Linked DNA regions of Homo sapiens: region 1 is linked to region 2. The links are contacts of gene promoters, found by promoter capture Hi-C in blood cells and fetal thymus (Javierre and others, 2016). All regions are on one chromosome and are shown on one strand. The core of a region is centred on a gene start or on the middle of the fragment in contact, and the rest is flanking DNA. Distances in the headings are between cores, read along the strand shown.

Region 1 (3,034 bases), core at 86-2,585, 2.6 Mb after region 2:
TTACATGGAAGGGACTTGAAGTCAGTGAAATCCTTTAAGACCCTGTCTTCACACAGAGAAGAGGAAGGCTGCCATTTCCTTTTTTGTCTTATTATTTCTGCTTTTAAAAAAATTGCTACTGTTTACATCATATACCACCACCAAAGGAAAATTTTTCTTTTGGTCCAGAAGGGCAAATGGCATGATGGTCTTTGTTCTAAAATAGTAGTATATCACCACCTAGACCAGAACGTTAAAGAGGCAATGCCTTCTCAGAAAATTACTAAGGATTGTATCTTCTGAAAACATCGTGATTTGAATTTGCTTATTAAGTTTATTTGATTTTTATATGATATTTTATAGATGCTTGTCACAGGCACTGGTACTTCAATGAGAGGTCAGTCCTTATGTTGCCTTGGTGCTTTGAAAATTAAATGTCATGAACAAAGAGTACATAATTTTTTATCCACACTTTTAGGACAGAATTCAATCAGGTGTCTAAAATGCAAACTCAACATTATCATAATATATACATATGATAATATATATACCCATGATAATATATGCATTGCTAGTTTCCACCATTTTTAACTTATCATACTTGTAATTAAATTTGCATATCTGGTACATATCTGATTTTCTCAGTCATCCAAATTTTTTTTGAGTATATATTTCTTTGTGCTGCCAAAACATAATAAAAATATACATACTTGATAATGCTTTGCATTATTTTGAGATAATTTTTAACACAGTTTAAGGTAAAGATACTGCTCAAACTGGCTACAATATTTGGTAGATGGAAGATAACACATGAAATGTGTCTTGAAAATCTGGCAATAGAAAATCTTTGCAATTTGCATTGCACATAGATAACAGGTCATAGTGATACCATTTATTTGTTTGAATTGCTGAGTTACATTTAGAGATAGAAATCGTTGTAAAATATTAAAATACATATGCAATTTATTTTAGCTAGCAATTGATAAGCAGTTGAGGAACATGGGTTCCTCAAGCTTTTAAGAGAAAGGCTTTGAAATTATAAGTTTGTTCATTTTGAAATTATCTTAAAAGTTTGACAAAATCTTAGGGGCCATTATCATTGAAATAATATCGTATGTAGGTCTGTTGAATTAAAACTATACCTGATTAAAGTTGTTTGTAAACACAACCATACACTTCAGATGATATTAACTGCTTGGCCCCTAAACATGTTCTGGATTTCCACAAAAAAGGAAAGCCCTGATAGTCACAGGAAAGCAATGAACATTTGCTGCAGTTTTTGACTTTCTTACATGTGTGTTAGCAAGAAAAGAAACTGCTTCATTTCAGCGGAAAATAAAATCCATGCTTTCTTATCTTTCAAGTTCAACTCAGAATTGAATAGTTATGCAGCAGAAAACAAATACAGGTTTGACATTAAATAGGTAAATTTCATTCTTTATTTTGAGTTTCAAAAATAATGTTTTATGCATACATAAGCCTACGTAAGAGATGAAGAACCAGTACCTATGTATAATAATTCTGAAACTGCTAGGACTATTTGAGCTTGGATCATGTTACTTAGTAAGAAAATCTTTTTAAAAGTCTTGTGTAAAGTTGTGTCTTGGCTATTTTTAAAGTTATATTGCTTTGGTTTATCATTTTATAGCTTTACTATTCAAGACTATCAGTAAATTTTTAGGTTATAAATAATAGGCTATAAGCTTATACTTTCTATTTAAATGAAATCTACCAAGACTATCTTTAGAAAAGTTAACTCCCATTTTGGCTAAGCCAATTATATAACATAAATATGTTTGTCTTAAAAAATTTAAATATTTTGAAAAGGAAGGAAGGAGATTAATATCAAGAAAGGTAAGTAAGCTTGACTACCTTTTTTTTATTTTCATGAAAGGCTGGCTAAAAAGTTTTTAATTTTAAATTTTAAATCAGAAAAAAACTATTCTTGGTCATTCCGTATCTACATACCATACATCATACCCTCACACCTCATTATCTTAACAGTGGTAGTGGTTAGTATATGAGTTGGTCAAAACTCATTAAAGGTACATATTAAAAAGAATGAATTTCTTTTTTTTTTTTGAGACGGAGTCTGGCTGTTGTTAGCCTGGGTTGGAGTACAATGGCACAACCTTAGCTCACGGCACCTCCGCCTCCCAGGTTCCAGCAATTCTCCTGCCTCAGCTTCCCAAGTAGCTGAGATTACAGGTGCCCACCACCACGCCTGGCTAATTTTTGTATTTTTAGTAGAGACGGGGTTTCACCATGTTGGCCAGGCTGGTCTCGAACTCCTGACCTCAGGTGATTCACCTGCCTCGGCCTCCCAAAGTCTTGGAATTACAGGCATGAGCCACTGTGCCCAGCCAAGTGAATTTCACATATGTAAATATCCTAGTAAAACTGATTTTAAATTTTGGGTTCCCTTTGGGTAACAAGAAAGTTTTTCTTGCTCTATAATTAAAAGTTAAGTATCATCTTGCTATTTCAATGACATTTTCAATGAATATAATTTTACAAGTTATTTTTTAATAACACAGGCCCTGAACAATATGATCCCAAACCAAATATAGCTAATTAAACCATACATACTCTTTCTTTTAGGGGGGAAAAAAATTCAGGGACTAGAAAGGTTCAGTAAGGCATCTGTATCTCTGAAATGAAATATCACAATGCTATATCAGAATACAAATTCAGTTTGGGCTTTATCTTACATAGCAAATGGATTTAATTTATGGTAGAAGTTCCTTTTCAACTTAGCAACCTGAACCCCATAAAGACCTTAATCTGCCCACTTCATGATTTACATCATCTGCTTCTTGTTTGCTACAGAAGTACAGTAAGCAGGAAAACAACCAAATCAGATAGAAATTTATAGAACTGGAAGCTATACCAATTACAGTATGTGGTTTGAAACGGCAATAAAAATTATCGAGTCAGTGAAACAGCAAAATATCTCACCATCTTGGCAACCTTGAAATACCCTATAAAAGCAAGAAAAATATAGCTCTATCTTCATAAAGCAAAGTAAATTGGAAATAATGCCCTTGTACCAAAG
Region 2 (2,842 bases), core at 245-2,744:
GACTAGCCTGGCCAACATGGTGAAACCCCATCTCTACTAAAAATACAAAAATTAACCAGGCATAGTAATACAAAAATTACTCAGGAGGCTGAGGCAGGAAAATTGCTTGAACATAGGAGGCAGAGGTTGTGGTGAGCCGAGATCGCGCCACTGCAGTCCAGCCTGGGCGACAGAGACTCCGACTCAAAAAAAAAAAAAAAAAAAAAAATTGTCGCTGAATGCAGTGGCTCACACCCGTAATCCTAGAACTTTTTGGGAGGCCAAGGCTGGTGTATTGCTTGAGCTCAGGAGTTCGAGACCAGCCTGGGCAACATGGCAAAACCTCGTCTCTACAAAAAAATGCAAAAATTAGATGGTGTGGTGGCACATGCCTGTAGTCCCAGCTGCTCGGGAGGCTGAGGTGGGAGAATCACCAGACCCTGGGAGGTCAAGGTTGCAGTGAGACATAATGGCACCACTGTACTCCAGCCTGGGGGACAGAGCTAGAACCTGTCTTAAAAAAAAAAAAAAAAGAAAGAAAGAAAGGCTGGGCGCGGTGGCTCACGCCTGTAATCCCAGCACTTTGGGAGGCCGAGACGGGCAGATCACGAGGTCAGGAGATCGAAACCATCCTGACTAACACGGTGAAACCCCGTCTCTACTAAAAATACAAAAAAAATTAGCCAGGCTTGGTGGTGGGCGCCTGTAGTCCCAGCTACTCGGGAGGCTGAGGCAGGAGAATGGCGTGAACCTGGGAGGTGGAGCTTGCAGTGAGCCGAGATTGCACCACTGCACTCAAGCCTGGGCGACAGAGCGAGACTCCGTCTCGAAAAAAAAAAAAAAAAAAAAAAAAGAAGGAGGAGGAAGGAGGAGGAAGAAGAAGAAGAAAAAAGAAGAAAGAAGAAGAGTTTGTCCTTTGTCCAGTTTGCAAGGGTGTGAGGGAACATGTTCCTGAGCATTGTTGGCAAAGCGGTGAACCCTCTTAGGAGAGTTTTGAGAACCTTAATAAAAGTATAAAGTACGTATCTTTTGAACCAACAATTATATTTACAGAGAAATCCAAATAAATCACGCAAACCTATAAATATGTAGAAATGGCAGTTGGAAGAATATTTGCTGTTTAAAGAAATTTAATTTTAGGTACCAAGCAGTTTCTAAATTTGGGTGCATCAACAAACTCAATGTCTAGGTTTGTCTTGTTTCTACAGTATATGGCTATAAAAACCTTCCGGATCACGAAAATAAAAGCACAGATAAACAATTAAAATATCGACACTCAAGAGTCCAAGTCGGAAGTTAGAATATCTGGAGAAGCAATCTGATTCACATAAACCTTTTTCGTTTTATTTTTTTAACATAAATCCTATCTACCTGGCTCTTGCCCTGACCGGCCGGAGAGAAACGGTGACAAACCTGGAACAACGTTGGACCAAAGACACTTCAGGAGGAGCAAAAGCGCGTTATCGTAGACCCAGGTCCCTCGTTGTGTCCAGTACCGAGCTTTGGCACTGTCAATAAGTCTTTTGAGAAGGATGGCATCCCTACCTCAGCTACTGAGCATGCGGGAAACTGCGCGCAAGCGCACAACAGCGATTTCACACTGCCTCTTTAGACTCCTGATCCGCGGGAAAATTCCACTTGTCCGTGTTTTCTCCAAGCTCTCCGTAGGTGCAAGTCACCTGTTGCATTAAATAAAAGCGAAAGATGTGTCAACTTTCAAAGATTGGCTAAAAAAAGAAAAAGAAGAAGGAAAGAACACATTAAGCCAGCAACAGTGTGTTGAAACAAAAAAAAGATTGGTTTTGGTTTCAGCTGTCTTCCAGCCCACTTCGTAGAGTTCACTGTTTTAAAATGTTCTTTGTATTAGTGATACCACTCTGCGGCTATTTAACTTCGAACCCCTAGCGGTCCGTGGACAGGCTTCAGCAGGTCCACCACACACACCTCCACCTCCCACTCCCCACGCAATAACACAGCAACTTTATGCAGAATTGTGTCAAAGATGCTTGCTTACCTTTTTTTTTTTTTTTTTTTTTTTTTTTTTAAGCGATAGATAGCTTGCTCTGTCGCCCAGAGTCGATTACGGCTCACTGCTGCCTTCCCACTTCTAGGCTCAAGCCATCCTCCCGCCTCAGCCTTCCGTGTAGCTGGGACTACTGGTGGAGGTGCGCGCCACCACACCCAGCTAATTAAAATATTTTTTGTGTACAGATGGGATCTTTTACTGGGGGGCGTGGTTGGGGAAGGGGGCAGTGTCTCATCCTGTCGCCCAGGCTGGAGTGCAGTGGCGCAGTCTAGGTTCACTACAACCTCCTCCTCCTGGGTTCAAGCGATCCTTCCTCCTTAGCCTCCCAAGTAGCTAGGACTACAGGCGCGCCACCACGCCGGGCTAATTTTGTTTGTTTTTTAAGTAGAGACGGGGTTTCATCATATTGGCCAGGCTGGTCTTGAACTCCTGACCCCAGGTGATCTGCTCACCTCGGCCTCCCAAAGTGCTGGGATTACAGGTGTGAGCCACTGCGCCCAGCTTAAAAAGGCTTTTACGTCTTCATTTGATTTTCACAATAACTCTGTGAGTTAAGTAGACCCTTTTTGGGAAGTGGAAAAATATACATAACTTAAATTATATTACTTTAACCATATATATATATATATATATATATATATATATATATATACACACACACACACACACACATATATACATATATATATTTTTTGAGACGGCGTCTTACTCTGTCGCCCAGGCTGGAGTGCAATGGCTTGATCTCGGCTCACTGCAACCTCTGCCTCCCAGGGTTCAAGCTATTCTCCTGCTTCAGCCTCCTGAGTAACTGGGACTACAGGCGCACACCACCCAGCC

The links. Contacts are between HindIII fragments. The CHiCAGO score rates a contact against its expected background, and 5 or more counts as called.
Region 1: a fragment that was not itself captured here is called in contact with the fragment with the promoter of BPNT1 in region 2 in 1 of 17 cell types (M2 macrophages); the score reaches 6.4 in M2 macrophages.

What each region holds. Positions count from the first base shown.
Region 1 is chr1:222,682,068-222,685,101 of GRCh38, forward strand. The region is part of intron 6 of AIDA (axin interactor, dorsalization associated); the gene reads right to left. Among named protein-coding and RNA genes, the nearest start is that of AIDA, 29 kb to the right of the region's middle. The HindIII fragment of the contact is 690 bases long and covers 991-1,680 here.
Region 2 is chr1:220,088,294-220,091,135 of GRCh38, forward strand. BPNT1 (3'(2'), 5'-bisphosphate nucleotidase 1) reads right to left here and starts at 1,495. Exons shown (of 9, transcript NM_006085.6): 1 at 1,393-1,495. RefSeq lists an enhancer at 1,606-1,795. The HindIII fragment of the contact is 18,631 bases long and covers 1-2,842 here.